Regions from separate parts of the Homo sapiens genome. Here regions 2, 3, 4, 5, 6 and 7 are each linked to region 1. The links are contacts of gene promoters, found by promoter capture Hi-C in blood cells and fetal thymus (Javierre and others, 2016). All regions are on one chromosome and are shown on one strand. Each heading gives the region's core, a stretch centred on a gene start or on the middle of the fragment in contact. The rest is flanking DNA. Distances are from core to core; before and after follow the strand shown. Region 1 holds the start of WIPI1 (WD repeat domain, phosphoinositide interacting 1). Region 2 overlaps LINC00674 (long intergenic non-protein coding RNA 674). Region 3 overlaps LINC00674 (long intergenic non-protein coding RNA 674). Region 4 has its middle 5.7 kb from the start of TRR-CCG2-1. Region 5 has its middle 9.5 kb from the start of C17orf58. Region 6 has its middle 53 kb from the start of LINC00674. Region 7 has its middle 9.2 kb from the start of C17orf58.

The links. Contacts are between HindIII fragments. The CHiCAGO score rates a contact against its expected background, and 5 or more counts as called.
Region 2: a contact is called between a fragment that was not itself captured here and the fragment with the promoter of WIPI1 in region 1, in 5 of 17 cell types (naive CD8 T cells, activated CD4 T cells, naive CD4 T cells and 2 more). The highest score is 7.3, in naive CD8 T cells.
Region 3: a fragment that was not itself captured here is called in contact with the fragment with the promoter of WIPI1 in region 1 in 1 of 17 cell types (naive CD8 T cells); the score reaches 5.1 in naive CD8 T cells.
Region 4: a fragment that was not itself captured here is called in contact with the fragment with the promoter of WIPI1 in region 1 in 9 of 17 cell types (naive CD4 T cells, non-activated CD4 T cells, naive CD8 T cells and 6 more); the score reaches 13.0 in naive CD4 T cells.
Region 5: a fragment that was not itself captured here is called in contact with the fragment with the promoter of WIPI1 in region 1 in 9 of 17 cell types (total B cells, naive CD4 T cells, non-activated CD4 T cells and 6 more); the score reaches 12.3 in total B cells.
Region 6: a contact is called between a fragment that was not itself captured here and the fragment with the promoter of WIPI1 in region 1, in 7 of 17 cell types (total CD8 T cells, naive CD4 T cells, non-activated CD4 T cells and 4 more). The highest score is 9.4, in total CD8 T cells.
Region 7: a fragment that was not itself captured here is called in contact with the fragment with the promoter of WIPI1 in region 1 in 9 of 17 cell types (naive CD8 T cells, non-activated CD4 T cells, total CD4 T cells and 6 more); the score reaches 8.2 in naive CD8 T cells.

What each region holds. Positions count from the first base shown.
Region 1 is chr17:68,456,095-68,458,794 of GRCh38, reverse strand. It overlaps WIPI1 (WD repeat domain, phosphoinositide interacting 1), which reads left to right and starts at 1,299. Exons shown (of 13, transcript NM_017983.7): 1 at 1,299-1,453. The coding sequence starts at 1,374. It also overlaps a transcript of PRKAR1A not described here. RefSeq lists silencers at 857-1,143, 880-1,559. The HindIII fragment of the contact is 11,803 bases long and covers 1-2,700 here.
Region 2 is chr17:68,112,357-68,115,056 of GRCh38, reverse strand. It overlaps LINC00674 (long intergenic non-protein coding RNA 674), which reads right to left. Exons shown (of 6, transcript NR_027418.1): 4 at 532-635. Among named protein-coding and RNA genes, the nearest start is that of LINC00674, 12 kb to the right of the region's middle. The HindIII fragment of the contact is 8,635 bases long and covers 1-2,700 here.
Region 3 is chr17:68,130,566-68,133,265 of GRCh38, reverse strand. It overlaps LINC00674 (long intergenic non-protein coding RNA 674), which reads right to left. Exons shown (of 6, transcript NR_027418.1): 6 at 1-2,700. It also overlaps the pseudogene LRRC37A16P and the pseudogene SH3GL1P3. Among named protein-coding and RNA genes, the nearest start is that of LINC00674, 30 kb to the right of the region's middle. The HindIII fragment of the contact is 5,734 bases long and covers 1-2,700 here.
Region 4 is chr17:68,024,357-68,027,056 of GRCh38, reverse strand. No RefSeq gene overlaps it. Among named protein-coding and RNA genes, the nearest start is that of TRR-CCG2-1, 5.7 kb to the right of the region's middle. The HindIII fragment of the contact is 5,801 bases long and covers 1-2,700 here.
Region 5 is chr17:67,985,577-67,988,276 of GRCh38, reverse strand. No RefSeq gene overlaps it. Among named protein-coding and RNA genes, the nearest start is that of C17orf58, 9.5 kb to the left of the region's middle. The HindIII fragment of the contact is 3,310 bases long and covers 1-2,700 here.
Region 6 is chr17:68,153,328-68,156,027 of GRCh38, reverse strand. No RefSeq gene overlaps it. Among named protein-coding and RNA genes, the nearest start is that of LINC00674, 53 kb to the right of the region's middle. RefSeq lists enhancers at 1,121-1,620, 1,621-2,122. The HindIII fragment of the contact is 1,585 bases long and covers 616-2,200 here.
Region 7 is chr17:68,004,345-68,007,044 of GRCh38, reverse strand. No RefSeq gene overlaps it. Among named protein-coding and RNA genes, the nearest start is that of C17orf58, 9.2 kb to the right of the region's middle. The HindIII fragment of the contact is 4,873 bases long and covers 1-2,700 here.

The DNA of each region.
Region 1 (2,700 bases), core at 50-2,549:
AAATTTGAAAAAATGAATTAAAAATCCATCAGCAGTTATACAATCCAAAGCTGGCAGAGCTCCTGCTTCATAAACCGTATTGACAGTAATTCCGCATGGGAACATGTACAGTACTCAGCTTTTAAAAAGAGATTCTTTGTTAAGGTTTATCTCGAATTACGTGAGTTTTGAATTGTGCTATATCTTCAAGACGTTACCCCTTTCATAAACTACACTGCCCTACACACACTTTCATTTTTTTCAGCTGCGGATCGGATAGGTCTTGTTTAGATACTTTGTGCCATTTTTGTAACTTTTCAGATCAAAGGTGCTTCCCCCCACCTTCCAGCTCCGTCAAATGCTGCAGTCATTTCTGTCCTGGTTAGAAAACCTAGAATCTCGCATGCTAGGTGCTACGTTGTTTTTGCAAATTACTGTTTAGCAGTTATTTAGTGCACAGGTCTTGAAAGCAGACATGCAGACATTCTACCATTTACTGTTACTTTAGACAAATTGTTTAGCTTTGGAGCTTCAGTTGCCTCTTCTGTATATTGAGCACAATCGTATTTTCCACACAAGTTTTATAAGAATTCAAGATGACATACATAGTACGGCGCGCTTGGCAAGTAGTGAGGGTTCTCAACCGCTCGGCAATGGATAAGATAACTTGCTATCTCTCTGGCTGAGGCAGCCCCATTTCAGGAGCTTCTCTCAATGCGGCTTGAGGACTCGACAAAAGGGTGGGGCTTTGGAGTCTAACGCTCTCTGCTAAACTCTGTAAGTTTAATAGGCAGAGTTACACATGGCAAGGGGTCTGGGCGGGGTGGGAACTAGCGCGTCCTCCTGTCACCCTTGCGGCGGCCCCGACGCAGTTGCCGGACTGAAACCAGCAGATCTGGCCCCAGCCGCATTCCTTCTTCCCTCTCCCTCCCAGCTGGGCGGCTCCGGCAATGAAAACACCGCCACGTGGGCCTGCTGCCTTTGCGTCACGCGCCTTTGTCCAATGGAGAGCCGCGTTACGAAGCCAGGGGCGGGTCGCCAGCCGGGCGGGTCCGCCCACAGCTGCCACGGATTGGCCAAGGGGGGCGGTGCCCGCCAGCCGTGGCTTGGGCTCGTGGCCAATGGTGGCCGGAGGCAGGGGCCCCGCCCTATCAGGTGCTCTGGTCCTCGGGACCAGCTGGAGGGGCGAGAAGGGGCGGGGCGAAGCCGGGGACGCGGCGGGGACGGGGCGGGGTAGGGGCGGGGTGGGGACGGGGCGGGGTAGGGGCGGGGTGGGGACGGGGCGGGGTAGGGGCGGGGCAGGACCGGCGACCCGGCCCGTGGAGCCGGCGCGGGCGGGCTGCTGAGGTGGCTGTCGCCGGCTCCGAGCTGCGGCTTCCCGGGCCGAGCCCCCGATGGAGGCCGAGGCCGCGGACGCTCCCCCGGGCGGGGTTGAGTCGGCGCTCAGCTGCTTCTCTTTCAACCAGGACTGCACGTAAGCTGCGACTCGGCCCCTGCCAGGGAGGTGGGGGACAGAGTGTCAGGACCCAGGGGTGTCGTCCTGAGAGCAGCTTGTGGCTTCCGCCTCGAGGCGGCCTCGGCGGGAGGGCCGGTGTCTGCTTCGGACGCATTGGGATCTTGTTATCCCCGTACCCCTTCAGTGGGGTTTGCCGCACCCCCCACCCCACCCCACTCCCAGTGTCCTCCCAGAGCGACAAGGTTGGGCCAAGGGTGAAAGCAGGGAGTTCGCAAAGGGAGTGGTGGGGCTGCGGGGGCCACGGAATATGGGGGGAGCAGGGCGGTGGGAAAGCCAGTGACCAAAGTGGGTGTCTGGGGAAGAGAGACAGTGGCCAAAAGAAAGAGATGAGAAAGGAGAGGAAGTTGCAAGTTGACCCAGGACTCTGTAGTTGGGGCCCAGGAAGATGAGAGTACAGGAAAAACTTTCCCATTTGTCCTTGAGCATCTCAACGTGGCATCTGGGCAGGGCCTCGGACAAAGAGGCAGCCTATCCCTGCGGCCAGGCCAGCCCCTGTCCCATCCCCGACGCAGGGCATCGTGCCTGCCCGCTCTGGATGGAAGAAACCTTTGGATTTCTTTGGCTGTTTTCACATCGCCCACCCAGCCAGGCAGGATCTCCTTCTCGGAGTCCAAGACTCTTTTCCCGGGCGCAGACTGCTTTCTCTCCAGGAAACAGGAGCTCCACCCTGTTGTTTTTGAGTGGATTTTTAATGTTTTACTTCGATGTTCACATTTGGGCTTTGAGAGGGAGCTGGGCTGAAGTGTGTTTCAGGCATCTGCAGGATTCTGTGACTTACAGGCAAACGCCTGTTTCTTTCCCTATTTTCATGGAAGCGAGCCCTGGGGACCATATGGAATCATCTTTTTGGAATGTGCACCCTGAGCATCAGGCGGGGATGACCGATTCCCAGTTTCCCACTTCCTGCTGTACCAGTTTCTGTGCCTTGGCTGCTGGTGACTGAGCTACGCTAATATTGATCCTTCAGTGGTGTAATTAAGGCCATTATGTACCATTAGCCACCCTGGCTTCCATTCCCTTTATGTTTCTGTTTAAAAACACCCGGTGCTGAACAATATGCCTTTGTTTGAAAAACCCATATGTGTAATCATGTAATCGAGTAGCTCTACAGCTTGGTTATTTGAGTGACTTTCAAGTTTTTCTTGACCACAATCCACAATACGAAATATGTATTGCAACATCACCCAATACCCATAACACATACA
Region 2 (2,700 bases), core at 94-2,593, 340 kb after region 1:
CTCCAAAAAAAAAGAAAAGAAAAAGAAATCAATTTGACTTGACCTGTGAGTTACAAATGTAGCAGAAGCATTATACCTTCTGTACTGAAACATTCTGAGGACCATCATGATATGTACATGTGTATACACACATGCATGCATACACATTCATTTAACAAGGAAAAAAGGCATAACAAATGGAAGCAAAGAGAACCAGTATTCAGTTCGTCATATATCGTTTAAATCTCAAAACTGTTCCTGACAATGTAAAGCAGAGGCAATAACATGCTGAAGGAGAGATGGAGAAAACACAGGGCCTGCAGTCTCATTGGACTCAGATGATCTATTGGGGAGTTCTAAAATACTTGTCCAGTAGCAGTACTATCCTAACCTCATTATGAATATATCTATTAGGATATCCTCAGTAATACAAACATTAGGGAATAGAATACCCAAAAAATAAATGTCGATGAGAAAGTTATACCGCAGGAAATATCTTAAATTGGTAAGTACAAAGATGCGTATGTCATAAGCTGGCAAGCAAGTCCTTACCTGGCAACCCCTCCGTAGTCAAGGCCTTCTTCTCCATGAAATTTTATCATTAATCGCTTCCAGAGATCTTTTGGTCTCATTTTCATGACCTGTCAATATGATTCCTGAAAAAAATAATTTTTAACACACTATTACTATTAGGTCCTGTTAGCCTATTACTTAATTGCTCCCTGCCAATCCGCTCAAAAAACTCAAGTCAAAATAAGGTGAAATTTGGCCAGGTGCAGTAGATCACACCTGTAATCCTCAGGTGGGAGGATCACCTGAGGCCAGGAATTCTAGACCAGCCTGGGCAACACGGTGAAACTCTATCTGTGCAAAAAAGTTTTTTCTTAAATAGCTGGGCATGGTGGCAGGCGCCTATAGTCCTAGCTACTTGGTAGGCTAAGGTGTGGGAGGACTACTTGAGCCCAAGAGTTCAAGGCTACAGTGAGCTATGATCATGCCACTGCACTCCAGCCTGAGTGACAGAGCAAGACCTTGTCTCTTTTAAAAAAATAAAGAGGCCAGGTGCAGTGGCTCACACCTGTAATCCCAGCACTTTGGGAGGCCGAGGCGGGTGGATCACGAGGTCAAGAGATCGAGACCATCCTGGCAGACATGGTAAAACCCCATGTATACTAAAAATACAAAAATTAGCTGGGCGTAGTAGTGGGTGCCTGTAATCCCACCTACTCAGGAGGGTGAGGCAGGAGAATCGCTTGAACCCAGGAGACGGAGGTTGCAGTGAGCTGAGATCACGCCACTGCACTCCAGCCTGGGCAACAGAGCAAGGCTCTATCTCAAAAAATATATACACATACATATTTGTATATGTGTATACAAATATGTATGTGTATACACATATATTTGTATATATGTGTATATATTTTTTGAATATATATATGCTTACATTCTAATAAAATTAAGTTTCTTCCTTTCTTTTGCCTTTTAGAAAAAATATACACATAAAATAAGGCAAGCAAAAGCAAGCCAGGCACAGCAATGTCTCAGGCCTATAATCCCAGCACTATGGAAGGCCAAGGCAGGGGATCACTTGAGGCCAGGAGTTCGAGACCAGCCTGGGCAACACAGTGAGGCCCCATCTCTACGAAAAATAAAAAAAATTTAAAAATTAGCTGAGCATGGTAGTGCATGTTTGTAGACCCAGCTATTCAGAAGGCTGAGGTGGGAGGATCACTTGAGCCCAGTTCAAGATCACAGTGAGCTCTGATTGTGCCATTGCACTGCAGCCTGGGTGACAGAGACCCTGTCACAAAAATAATACAAGCAAAAACGATAAATACTCATAATCCAACCCATACTTAACACACCAATCACCTCCTTTCTTTTCTATGGTCACATTTTAGATATGTTTATTCTTTATATCCCACCTTTTTCCAAAAATGATTTGAGGGGACTGACAGCTGGTAAACAAGCAAACTTTGTTAAGTCCTGGTTGTCATAATCCTCTTTCATCACATAGTAAGAGATGAAAAAGATTAATTAATTTAAAAATGTAAGGTTCATAATAGAAATTCTGAAAGGAAAACTACAGGACCCCATCTAGGCTTTTTCTGATTTCTTATATCTCCATTCATGGTACCACATAATAAAAATAATATCTGTCACATATCAAAAATGATAAATACTTATTGGCTGAACAAATTAAACAATGGCTCCAAAGCATTACAAGATTCTAAATCAAAGACTCAATTTGTTTGAAAGCTGCTTTATTTTAAAGCTATAGTAATCAAGACAGCACGGTGTTAAAAAGAATAAACTTAAAGGGGTAGAATCATAGATAAAGAAAACAGAAGACAGTCCAGAAATAGAATTATATGTATATTGTCAACTGATTTTTTTGTTTGTTTTGAGACAGAGTCTCATTCTGTCACCCAGGCTGGAGTGCAGTGGCACCATCTGGGCTCACTCCAACTTCCGCCTCCTGGATTCAAGGGATTCTCTTGCCTCAGCCTCCTGAGTAGCTGGGATTACAGGCGCCCGCCAGCATGCCCAGCTAACTTTTGTATTTTTAGTAGAGACGGGGTTTCGCCATGTTGGCCAGGCTGGTCTCGAACTCCTGACCTCAAGTGATCTGCCTGCCTTGGCCTCCCAAAGAACAGGCATGAGCCACCACACCTGGCTTGTCAACTGATTTTCTACCAAGGTGCCACGACAATTCAATGG
Region 3 (2,700 bases), core at 14-2,513, 330 kb after region 1:
GAAATGTATGCCTGAATTTTGTAAACAGAAGTATTAAAGGTCTTTCTACAAAAAAAAAAAAAAAAATCATGAACGCTAAATGCAATGTCTGATGTTGGATTGGATTCTGAATTTTTTAAGCCATGTTATGATTGGGACAATTGTGAAAATGTGTATATGGGCTGCATAGTAGACAATGATAATATGAAGTTCCATTGGGTGATGATAGTCCTCTGGTTATGCAGGAGAATGCCTTGCTTCTTAGGGGCTGCACACTGAAGTCTTTAATGGCAAAGGGTCATTTTGTCTGCAACTGACTCTCAAATGGTTTGTCCAGAAAATGTATAGACATACACACATGGAAAGCAAATGTGGCAAAGTATTAGCAACTGTTGATTCCAGATGAAAGTTATACAGGTGTTCATTATACCATCTGAAAATGCTTCCTAGCCATCCTAAGGCTTAAAGGAAAAAAAGAAAATGTTTAAAATCAAAAGTCGGGGGCAGGAAAAGAATAACAATTAAACTTCAGGCTCATGCCTGTAATCCCAGCACTTTGGGAGGCCAAGGAGAGAGGGTTGCTTGAGCTCAGGAGTTTGAGACCAGCCTGGGCAACATGGTGAAACCCCATCTCTACAAAAAATACAAAAATGAGCCAGGCATGGTGGCACTCACCTGTAGTTCTAGCTACTCAGGAGGCTGAGGTGGGAGGATCATTTGAGCCCAGGAGGCAGAGGCTGCAGTGAAGTGAGATTGCACCACTGCACTCAGCCTGTGTAACAGAGTGAGACTTGGCCTCAAAACAAAAGAAACACTTTTGTGTCAGAGTTAAGGTTGCTATATAAGTAAAATGCTAGGTTACGGTTCTGGGTACATTCAATCTGTATGAAGATCAGAGACCTCTATTGGACCCAAAGGAATACTAGTCACTTGTGATTATTCCTCTATAGGTTTGAAAGATGTGTCAGACCAACTTATTGGATGCAGTTTTAATCTAAAACTCCATAAATTGTACCCCCAACTCATAGACTTCATTTATCTGTTGAATACTCTTCTGTTTCCACAGTCTTAATGTGGCCCTAATAAAGTCATCCTTTTGGAGGACTCAGAAAAGGCCCCCCCACAACCTCTGTAATGTAATAATTACAGTAGTTAACATTTATTGAGCACTCACTGTGTGTCAGGCATTTTTCAGGTACTGATTCATCTAATCCTCAAAACTCATTAGAGGTAGGTACTATTATAATGACAAGGCCAAGGAACAGAGATTAATCAATGTGCCCAAATTCACATTATTCACAGAGCTGGGATTTAAGCCTAGTCTGGCTGTGGAATCTGTATTCTTAATGACCATGCTATATTGCTTAAGATTAACCTTGAGAATTTACTCCAGTTACAAAGATTGTTTTTATTTCTCTGAAACTGCCCCCAATGAGCCATAACAATAAATTAATCAATTATCTTGGTTATCTCTTTTGCCCAAGTTTATATTTCAAAAAAAATTCAAACATACCAGAAAGATGAAAGAATAGCACAGAATCCAATCAAAGATTAGGCACTGCATGTCATGTCTTCATTTCCTTTAATCTAAAACATTCCTCTACTTTTTTTGATCTTTCATGACATGGCATTTTTTAAGAGTCAAAGATAGTTGTTTTGTAAATTGTCCCATAATCTGGATTTGTCTGTTTCCACATGATGAGATTCAAGGTAAGCATTTTTGGGAAAAATACTGCATAGGTGATATATCCTTCCTGCCTCGTGATTGCAGGTGGCTCATAATGCTAAGTTTGATCACTTGTTTAAGGTGATCTTCCAGATCTCTCCATTGTAGTTATTTTGCTGGGTGTGGTGGCTCATGCTTATAATCCCAGCACTTTGGAAGGCCGAGACGGGCAGATCGCTTGAGTCCAGGAGTTTTAGACCAGCCTGAGCAACAAGGTGAAACCCTGTCTCTACTAAAAATACAAAAAAAAAAAAAAAAAAAAAAAAAAATTAGCTGGGTGTGGTGGTACAAGACTATAGTCCCATATACTTGGGGGGCTGAATTTGGAGACTCACTTGAGCCCAGGGTGGGGGTCGAGGCTGTTGTGAGCTACGATTTTGCCACTGTATTTCAGCCTGGGTGACAGAGTGAGACTTTGTCTCATAAAAAAATAAAAAATAATTTTTCCCTTTGGTAATTAATAAAATATCTGTGTGGTGGTACTTTGAGATCAGTAAAGATCCTGTTCTCAAATGTCTTCTCACCCAGCTGTGTCCATCAATGACAATCCTTGTCTGAATCAATTTTTATTACATTGGTGGTTGCAAAGTAACACTTTTTAAAATTCTGTCATTCCTTCTACATTCATTAGCTGGCATTATTTCATTAAAGAACAACTCCCTCTCTTTTTAAATATCATTCTTCATGGATTCTTTTTTATATATTAATTATGTTGTAGCTTATTGTTACTCTTTTGAATGCTCAAATTGTCGAGATTTGGCCAATGCAATCTGTTATTTTTTTAACCCCACAATCCAGGTTAAACTGAGCTATTTTTAATGCCCAGAGTAATTTCTAATATTTCCCACTGCCAACAGAAATTGAGAAAGGGACTCCAGAAGTTGGGGGCTTATTCAGACTCTTCTTAGAAGTCTACTTTCTTCCTGTGTACTTTCAGCCCAAAGTGAGACTTTTGAGTTGGGAAGAGATACTTCTGAATTAAACTACTGATCAGT
Region 4 (2,700 bases), core at 12-2,511, 430 kb after region 1:
CACTCCAGTCTGGGCAACAAAGCAAGACCCTGTCTCAAAAAAAAAAAGGAAAGAAAAGAAAAAAAATCTGAAAAAGAAATTCCATTATATGGATGTACCACAGTTTGTTTATCCATTCACCTATGGAAGCACATCTTGGTTGGTTCAAATTCTGGCAATTACGAATAAAGCTGCTATAAACAGTTGTGTGCAGGTGGAGATTTTTGTGTAGACATACGTTTTCAACTCACTTGGATAAATACCATGGATTGCGATTGCTGGATGGTATGGTAAGACTATGTTTACCTTTGTAAGAAACTGCCAAACTATCTTTTGAAGTTGCTGTACCATTCTGCATTCCCACTAGCAATGAATGAGAGTTCCTCTTGTTCCATATCCTCACCAGAATTTGGTGTTGTCAGTGTTTTGCATTTTAGCCATTACAATAGATGTGTAGCGGTATCTCATTATTTTGATTTGCAATTCCATAATTTCACTGTGAGGTGAGTTTCTTGGTTGGAGCAGTGTTGTCTCTTTGGGAATCCATGACAGCATAAAAGACTTGCAAAGTGAAAGGAGGGGCCGGGCGCGGTGGCTCATGTCTGTAATCCCAGCACTTTGGGAGGCCGAGGTGGGCGGATCATGAGATCAGGAGTTTGAGACCAGGCTGGTCAACATGGTGGCCCCATTTCTACTAAAGATACAAAAATTTAGCTGGGCGTAGTGGCACGCGACTGTAATCCCAGCTACTCGGGAGGCTGGGGGAGGAGAATCGCTTGAACCTGGAAGGCGCAGGTTGCACTGAGCCGAGATCATGCCACTGTACGCCAGCCTGGGCGACAGGGCAAGACTCCGTCTCAAAAAAAAAAGAAAGTGAATGGATGGTGGTGCTGGCAGCAGAGTGACACATTGGAAAGTAAATATGGCCCAATCCAGATAAAATGTCTCTTCCTCCTGATCTATTATGGAAAGGGTCCAATGTTATTGTCATGATCACCAGGTAATTGAATGGTCCCTTCAGGGTGTGAAGCCAACATCAGGGCTGGTTGGGCCCCCGGCAGAAATAGTAGCCAGACCAGACTCAGTAGTAGGAAGTGAATGATACTGAGCGTATGCATAGCCTCTGTCTCTGCTGCCTTGGCCATGTGGTTCATGATCCCATTAAGCAAGCACTAGCCTGGCAGGGGAAGGAGGATGATGGACATCTACAGAGCAGGCCATCATGGCCACCTGAATATTAATAGCCTATTCCACAGTGGAGGCCTTTGGGTGAACATCCATATAACTCAAATCCACACCTTCTAAGTTCATTCCAAAAGATCCATACATCTACCCCTTCTCCAAACCACCTTTGTTGTCAATCCTATCTTCCTCTCACAAATTCCTGAGTGTATTGTTTATGACTCTTTTGGTTGCAAGAGGCAGAAGACCCAATCCTAAGTTGGCTTATGAGTAAAGGAATTTGCCACCTCAAATAAGAAGGCTGGGTGCCGTGGCTCATGCATGTAATCCCTGCACTTTGGTAGGTTGAGGTAGGAGGATCACTTGAAGCCAGGGGTTTGTGTAACCAACAGAGGGAGACCCCCTTTTTCTACAAAAAAAAAAAAAAATTATCCAGGTGTGGTGGTGTGCACCTGTAGTATCAGGTACTTGGGATGCTGTGGCAGGACAATTGCTTGAACCCAGGAGTTTGGGGCTGCAGTGAGCTATGATTGAGCCACTGCACTCCAGCCTGGGTGACTGAGCAAGACCCTGTCTCTAAAAAAAATAATAATAATAACAAAAGTCCAGACCGGGCGTGGGGGTCGTGCCTGTCATCCCAGCGCTTTGGGAGGCCAAAGCCGGTGGATCACCTGAGGTCAGGAGTTCGAGACCAGCCTGGCCAACTCCAGTAGAGATGGCAAAACTCTGTCTCTACTAAAAATACAAAAATTAGCTAGCCATGATGTGATTCAGGAGAATCACTTGAACTTGGGAAGCAGAAGTTGCAGTGAGCTGAGATTGAGCCACTGCACTCCTGCCTGGGTAATAGAGCAAGACTGTCTCAAAAAAAAAAAAAAGAAAGAAAGAAAAGAAAAGAAGGCTGGGCATGGTGGCTCATGCCTAGAATCCCAGCAGTCTGGGAGGCTGAGGTGGGCAGATTGCTTGAGTCCAGGAGTTTGAGACCAGCCTGGGCAACATGGTGAAACCTGGTCTCTACAAAAAATATAAAAATTAGCCAGGCATGGTGGTGCACGCCTGTCATCCCAGCTACTTGGGAGGCTGAGGCGGAAGGATCATTTGAGCCTGGGAGTTGGAAGCTGCAGTAAGACGTGATTGCATCACTGCACTCCAGCCTGGGCAACAGAGTGAGAACCAGTCTCAAAAAAACAAGCAGATCGGGCATGGTGGCTCACACCTGTAATCCCAGCACTTTGGGAGGCCGAGGCAGATAGATCACTTGAGGTCAGGAGTTTGAGTTTGAGACCAGCCTGGCCAAAACAGTGAAACCCCGTCTCTACTGAAAATACAAAATATAGGCCGGGTGCGGTGGCTCACACCTGTAATCCCAGCACTTTGGGAGGCCGAGGTGGGTGGATCACCTGAGGTCAGGAGTTTGAGACCAGCCTGGCCAACGTGGAGAAACCCCATCTCTACTAAAAATACAAAAATTAGCCAGGTGTGGTGGCATGTGCCTGTAATCCCAGCTACTCCAGAGGTTGAGGCAGGAGAATTGCTTGA
Region 5 (2,700 bases), core at 128-2,627, 470 kb after region 1:
CGAGACCATCCTGGCCAACATGGTGAAACCCCGTCTCTACTAAAAACACAAAAAATTAGCCTGGCGTGGTGGCGGGCGCCTGTAGTCCCAGCTACTCGGGAGGCTGAGGCAGGAGAATGTCATGAACCTGGGAGGCGGAGCTTGCAACTTGCAGTGAGCCAAGATCTCGCCACTGCGCTCCAGCCTGGGTGACCACGCCTGGCCAATTTTTTTGTATTTTTAGTAGAGACGGGGTTTCACTGTGTTAGCCAAGATGGTCTCGATCTCCTGACCTCGTGATCCGCCCACCTCGGCCTCCCAAAGTGTTGGGATTACATGCGTGAGCCACCGCGCCCGGCCTCAATGCCCGGCTAACTTTTGTCCTTTTTTTGAGATGGCATCTCACTCTGTCACCCAGGCTGGAGTGCAGTGGCGTGATCCCGGCTCACTGCAACCTCTGCCTCGCGGGTTCAAGCGATTCTCCTGCCTCAGCCTACCGAGTAGATGGGATTACAGGCGCCCATCACCACGCCCGGTTAATTTTTGTATTTTTAGTAGAGATGGGGTTTCACCATGTTGGCCAGGCTGGTCTAGAACTCCTGATCTCAAGTGATTCACCTGCCTCGGCCTCCCAAAGTGTTAGGATTACAGTTGAGAGCCACCATGCCTGGCCTTTTGTACTTTTAGTAGAGACGGGGTTTGGCCGTGTTGCCCAGGTTGGTCTTGAGCTTGTGGCCCCAAGTGAATCACTCACTTCAGCCTCCCAAAGTGCTGGGATTACAGGCATTAGCCACTGCGCCCTGCCAATTTGATGGAAAATTTTAATGAGCAAATGCACTATAGTTTCTTATAATCTTGTCCCATTGATAGATTTTTCTTAGCAAATGGGTTTGTGCCTATGTGCACACATTAATAGTCCCTAAATGGAATACTCTCTTGCCTTCAGTAGTAATTCAATAGCATCCCTCCTTCAAATGAAGCTATTATTTTACAATTCAAGGGAAAAAAGTACTTGTTTTTCTTTTTTTTCTTTTCTTTTTTTTTTTTGAGACGGAGTCTCGCACTGCGGAGTGCAGTGGCACAATCTCAGCTCACTGCAAGCTCCGCCTCCCGGGTTCACGCCATTCTCCTGCCTCAGCCTCCCGAGTAGCTGGGACTACAGGCGCCCGCCATCACGCCCGGCTAATTTTTTTTGTATGCTTAGTAGAGACGGGGTTTCACCGTGTTAGCCAGGATGGTCTCAATCTCCTGACCTCACAATCCGCCCGCCTCAGCCTCCCGAAGTGCTGGGATTACAGGTGTGAGCCACCGCGCCCAGCCAAGCACTTGTTTTTCTTTGGGTAGGAAAACGTCTATAAAACACATACACTGTTTGTTTGTTTATTTATTTATGTGAGACTGAGTCTTGCTCTTGTCACCCAGGCTGGAGTGCAGTGGCACAATCTTGGCTCCCTGCAACCTCCACCTCCTGGGTTTAAGCGATTCTCCTGCCTCAGCCTCCCAAGTAGCTGGGATTACAGGCACCCACCACCAGGCCCGGCTACTTTTTGTATTTTTAGTAGACACAGGGTTTTGCCACATTGGCCAGGCTGGTCTCGAACTCCCGACCTTGTGAGCCACCTGCCTTGGCCTCTCAAAGTGCTGGGATTACAGGCGTGAGCCACCACGCCCGACCCATAGCTCTTCACAACTGCCTTGTAAAGAAAGCATCATTTGGCACTGTTAGTATTTCTCTTGAATTTTTTTTTTTTTTTTAGACAGAATCTCGCTCTATCGGCCAGGCTGGAGTGCGGTGGCACCATCTTGGCTCACTGCAACCTCCGCCTCCCGGGCTCAAGCAATTTTCCTGCCTCAGCCTCCCGAGTAGTGGGATTACAGGCATGTGCCACCACAGCCTGCTAATTTTTGTATTTTTAGTAGAGACGGGTTTTCACCATGTTGGCCAGGCTGGTCTCGGACTCCTGACCTCAGGTGATCCGCCCGCCTCGGCCTCCCAAAGTGCTGGGATCACAGGCATAAGCCACCGCGCCCGGATAAAATCATTTTTAAGGCTGACCATTCACACATAGAAACAAACTCATAAAAACTGACCTGCCACCTATAATGCATCACCTCAATTTCAGGAAATATTTGAGCAAGCAATAAATAAATTAGATAAAGCAGGACATTAACATTTTAAAAATATAGCTAATTTTAGTTGAAAATATAGCTAATTTCTTTAGTTGAATTTGGTTCAAATTGGATCAAGCGGTATGATCTTCTGAGAAAATCTTCTAGTATCTCGCTCCAAGTATCCAGAAGTACCTCAGAATGTTTCAAATTATTAAAAATACTTCTCAGCTGGTTCTTACCCCCACCTCCTCAAGTACTTCATTACTTTATCCATGAAATATCACCATTCTCACATTAAGGACAAGAAGTCTGAGACCTACGGTAATAGCTTCAATCATGAAGAGCGAAAGCTGTAATAACCATGTAGCTTTGTCTAAGTGTGCAGAGATCTGAAAGGCCACCAGGTTGGCTCTTTAACATAAAGCAGCAGAGAGTTTGCCTAAAGGAATTAACAGAAATAGGGAAGTAACTTTTATTTGCAGATCCTAGGAAGGTAGATTACAAACAACAGCAAATCTTAGTGTCTCTAAATAACACTCTAGGCCATTTGAAATATAAAAAGGTAATTATTTTCCTTCAGAAAATATCTCCAAAAGCTCACTTTTTTTG
Region 6 (2,700 bases), core at 159-2,658, 300 kb after region 1:
CCGAAGAGTTTACTAGATTATGTTTCCCGAATCGAGAATTCAGTTCCAGCTTTCATTTCTGGCACTGACATATTGGCCAAATAGGATTCTTATGCAATAATCAGTTGCTTTGCTGTGAGCCTTGGAAGTGGTCATGCTATTGAATGCCATTGCTTGTATTCCCTGTTCAGTTCTACAGTGGTGCAAATGTTATAGGCTGTGCCCAGAGGAAGCCCGATGTTTAGCAAAGAGTCCCTGAACAGAGTTGCTCTTCTGCTTCACAGCCCTGAAGACTTAGAGACAGAGATCCTAATTAAGTTACCACAGACCTTATTTGCTTGTAAGAGGTGGCCCTGATTGCTCTCGGCTTTCCAACCTGGGCCGCCCTTCTAGTGAAAGTCTTACTTCCTTGGTCATCAACTGTCAAGTCTGAGTAACAACCTTTAATAACCAAGCTAAATGTGTGGGTTGTTTACCTCTCCCTAGTATACAAAGGTATCCCTTGCACACACTCAAAACTTCTTAGACCAAAAGCCTTATATCTCTAATTTGCCTTGAAGGAAGTTGTATTGTCTATAGAGTATGCGGGATATTTTCTGCCAATAAAATGTTCAAGTGTTCTCTCTCTCTGAAGCTTTGCTCATTGTATCTGGTGGAATTTTGGTTCTCAGGGAGTAGACACCTAGCCGTGCTTCTAATGTGAAGTGTCTACTAGCCCAGTGGTCTCCATTTTGGATTTGAACTTCGACCCCCCCACCTGATGCCTTACTATTTAATATTGTGATTGAACATTTTTGTTTCCAAATTTTTTATTTCTTATGTTATTATTCCTTAGTTCCTATCTGTAAGATCATAAAGTCCTTTGAACCAAACACAGTTGATATTTCATACATATGTTAAAAACTGAGGTGTGAGACCGGACATGGTGACTCACACCTCAAATCTCAGCACTTTGGGAGGCCAAGACAGAAGGACACTTCAAGTCAGGAGTTCGAGACAGCCTGAAATAACAAAGCAGGACCATGTCTCTAAAAAAGAGAATTAGCCGGGCACAGTGGTGTAGTCCCTGCTACTCTGGAGGCTGAGGCAGGAAGATCACTTGAGCCCAGGAATTCCAGGCTGCAGTGAGCTATGACAGTGCCACTGTACTCCAGCCTGGGTGACAGAGTGAGACCCTGAAAAAGAAGAAAGGGAGGGAGGGGAGGGGAGGGGAAGGGAGGGGAAGGAAGGGGGAAAGGGAAAGGGACAGGGAAGTATGTGATGAGATGAGGAAACTTCCAGGAAAATGCTCTTATTTTCTGCTTTTAGAAACCAAAAGAATGTCTCACTGTGGGGTGCTACCATTATATGCAGGAAGTTTTAGAATGAAAAAGATTCTGAATTGCTCCTTGCTAACTTTATTTCAGAAAGTGGTAAAATAGCTGTGGAGTACAGACCCAGTGAAGAGATTGTAGATGTCAGATGGGAAGAAGAACTACACGGCTTAATTCAAGTATGTGGAGATAAAAACTCAAGGGTAACAGAGCCAGGCGTGGTGGCTCACACCTGTAATGCCAGTGCTTTGGGAGGCCGAGGCCGGCGGATCACCTGAGGTCAGGAGTTCAAGACCAGCCTGACCAACATGGAGAAATGGTGGCGCATGCCTGTAATCCCCGCTACTCGGGAGGCTGAGGCAAGAGAATCACTTGAACTGGGAGGCGAAGGTTGCTGTGAGCCAACATCATGCCATTGCACTGAATCCTGGCCAACAAGAGCGAAACTCCATCTCAAAAAACAAACAAACAGGCCAGATGCCATGGCTCACGCCTGTAATCCCAGCACTTTGGGAGGCCAAGACGGGTGGATCACGAGGTCAGGAGTTCAAGACTAGCCTGGCCAACGTGGTGAAACCCTGTCTCTACTAAAAATAGCTTAGGTGTGCTGTAGGCTATACCACCTAAGTTTGTGTAAGTATACGCTATGATGGCAAGCAACTCATGACTGTATATGAAAGCTCTTAAATAGGGATTAAGTTTCTAAATCTCAAAACAGTCATTATTTACTATATATGGAATTTAAAAAAAAAAAGGGGCAAAAGTTTCATTTCAGTGAGAACTTCATTTGGGGCTAGAGTGTTTTATTTAACTTTTACACCAAAGTTGCAAAGTGTTTTGAAGTTTTTCCCTGTAAAATAATTATTTTAATTCAATTTAAATAAAACCCACCAAGAAAACTTCAAGCTTTAAGAAGTCTAGCTTCCCGTGAAATGTGAGAGGAAGTCAGCACTGATTTCAGAAATCTGATTATAACAATAGATCTATCCCTAAATGAGGCGAATCTTGGAATCCCTTCAATTTTATTTTATTTTATTTTATTTTATTGAGGCAGAGTTTCACTCTTGTTGCCCAGGCTGGAGTGCAATGTCGCGATCTCGGCTCACTGCAACCTCCACCTCCCAGGTTCAAGTGATCCTCCTGCCTCAGCCTCCCGAGCAGCTGGGATTATAGGCATGCGCTACCACACCCGGCTAATTTTGTATTTTTAGTAGAGACAGAGTTTCACCATGTTGGTCAGGCTGTTCTTGAACTTCTGACCTCGGTGATCCGCCTACCTCAGCCTCCCAAAGTTCTGGGATTATGGGTGTGAGCCACTGCACCTGGCCCCCCTTCAATTTTAAAACCATCACTGTGCACGCTATGCCTATGCCAGGCACTGGAAGAAGATGAAGCACCTTCTTGGAGT
Region 7 (2,700 bases), core at 119-2,618, 450 kb after region 1:
GACTTAGCTGGATGGTTCTGCTCAGGTCTCTCGGGATGTTTCAGTCAAGCAGTGGCCTGGAGCTGCACTCTTATCTGAAGACTCAACTGGCAGAAAATATGCATGCAAGGTCGCTCATTGGTTGTTGGCAGGCTGCAGTTTCTTACTGAATGTTGGCTGAAGACATCACTGGCTTGCTACATGGACATCTCCATAGACTGCTTGAATGTCCTCCCCACATAGCCAGAGTGAATGAGCTAAAAGAGAGACAGCAAGAACACACACACCCCAGATAAGAGTTCAGTCTTTCTAAGTCATATGAAAAAGATACTTGGACATGCATGTTTATAGCAGCACAATTCACAATTGCAAAAATGTGGAACCAGCCCAAATGCCCATCAATCAATGAGTGGATAAAGAAACCGTGGTGTGTGTGTGTGTGTGTGTGTGTGTGTATATATATATATATATATAATATATATATATGCATACAATGGAATACTATTCAGCCATAAAAAGAAATGAATTAATGGCATTTGCAGCAACCTGGATGGGATTGGAGACTTATCATTCCAAGTGAAGTAAGTCAGGAATGGAAAACCAAACATCCTACGTTCTCACTCATAAGTGGGAGCTAAGCTATGAGGATGCAAAGGCATAAGAATGACACAATGGAATTTGGGGACTCAGAGGGAAAGTGTGGGAAGGGGTTGACAGATAAAAGGCTATTAATTAGGTGCAGTGTATACTGCTCGGGTGATGGGTGCACCACAATTTCACAAATCACCACTAAAGAACTGACTCATGTAACCAAACACCAACTGTTCTTCAATAACCTATGGAAATAAAAAATTAAAAAAAAAAAGAGTTCAGTCTTTCTGTAATCTAATCTTGGAAGTGTATATTATCCTATCCTATCAGTCTTCCAGACCAACCCTGCTACAGGGTAGGTGGGGACTATATGGGATGTGAATACCAAAAAGTGGGCACACTGGGGGCTGGCTACTTGGAGGATGGTTACTACAAACTATATTTGTAATTTTTTTTTTCTCGAGATGGAGTCTTGCTCTGTCGCCCAGGCTGGAGTGCAATGGCATGATCTCGGCTCACTGCAACCTCCACCTCCTGGGTTCAAGTGATTCTCCTGCCTCAGCCTCCCAAGCAGCTGGGATTATAGGCATGCGCCAGCATGCCTGGCTAATTTTGTATTTTTAGTAGAGACGGGGTTTCTCCATGATGGTCAGGCTGGTCTACAACTCCTGACCTCAAGTGATCCCCCTGCCTTGGCCTCCCAAAGTGCTGGGATTACAGGCCTGAGCCACCACGCCCGACTATATTTGTAATTTTTTAACCACTGGAAAAAAAAAAAAGAAAGAAACAAGTATGGGAAAATACTAAGATCTGATAAAACTGGGTTATATTTGTGCAGCTGTTGATTACACTATTCTCTATAACTTTGAATGTTTTATAATAAAAATAAAAATATTTTCTCCTTAAAAATGTGCAGAGCATACCTCACATAATGTTGACAAATAATCCTAGAGACAATTATTTTTTTTTTTTTGAGACAGGGTCTCACTCTGTTGCCCTGGCTGGAGTGCAGTGGCACCATCTCAGCTCACTGCAACCTCTGTCTCCCAAGTTCAAGCAATTCTCCTGCCTCAGCCTCCTGAGCAGCTGGGACTACAGGCGAGCACCATGATGTCCGGCTAATTTTTGTATTTTCAGTAGAGACAGAGTTTCATCATGTTGCCCAGCTGGTCTCAAACTCCTGGCCGCAAGCGATCCACCCACCTTGGCCTCCCAAAGTGCTAGGATTACAGGCGTGAGCCACTGTGCCGGGCCAAATACATACATACATATATATATATATATATATATATATTTTTTTTTTTTTTTTGAGACAGCGTCTTGCTCTGTTGCCCAGGCTGGAGTGCAGTAGTGCAATTTCGGCTCACTGCAGCCTCTGCCTCGTGGGCTCAAGTGATTTTCATGCCTCAGCACCCGGAGTAGCTAGGACTACAGGTGCCCATCATCAGGCCCGGCTGATTTTTGTATTTTGAGTAGAGACGGATTTCACCATGTTGGCCAGGCTGGTCTCAAACTCCTGACCTCAGGTGATCCACCTGCCTCGGCCTCTCAAAGTGCTGGGATTACCGGTGTGAGCCACTGTACCTGGCCAAGACAATTTTAAGAAACAGGCACTCTCGGCTGGGCGCGGTGGCTCACGCCTGTAATCCCATCACTTTAGGAGGCTGAGGAGGGCGGATCACAAGGTCAAGAGATCAAGACCATTTTGGCCAACATGGTGAAACCCCATCTCTACTAAAAATACAAAAAATTGGCTGGGTGTGGTGGCTTGCACTTGTAATCCTAGCTACTTGGGCAGCTAACGCAAGAGAATCGCTTGAACCCAGGAGGCAGAGGTTGCAGTGAGCCGAGATCACGCCATTGCACTCCAGCCTGGGTGACAGAGTGAGACTCCGTCTCAAAAAAAAACAAAAACAAAACAAGGAGAAATAGTCCTTGTAAAGAAGGAAATTATAAGAAGGCAATAGACTGAAATGAACAAACAACAGGATGAACAAAAAAGGAAGCTGACTATTAATTCCTGAGCTTTCAACCCCTTACTGGGGCCAGGTGCAGTGGCTTACTCCCTTAATCCCTGGGCTTTGGGAGGCCCAGATGGGCAGATAGCTTGAGCCCAGGAGTTTGAGACCA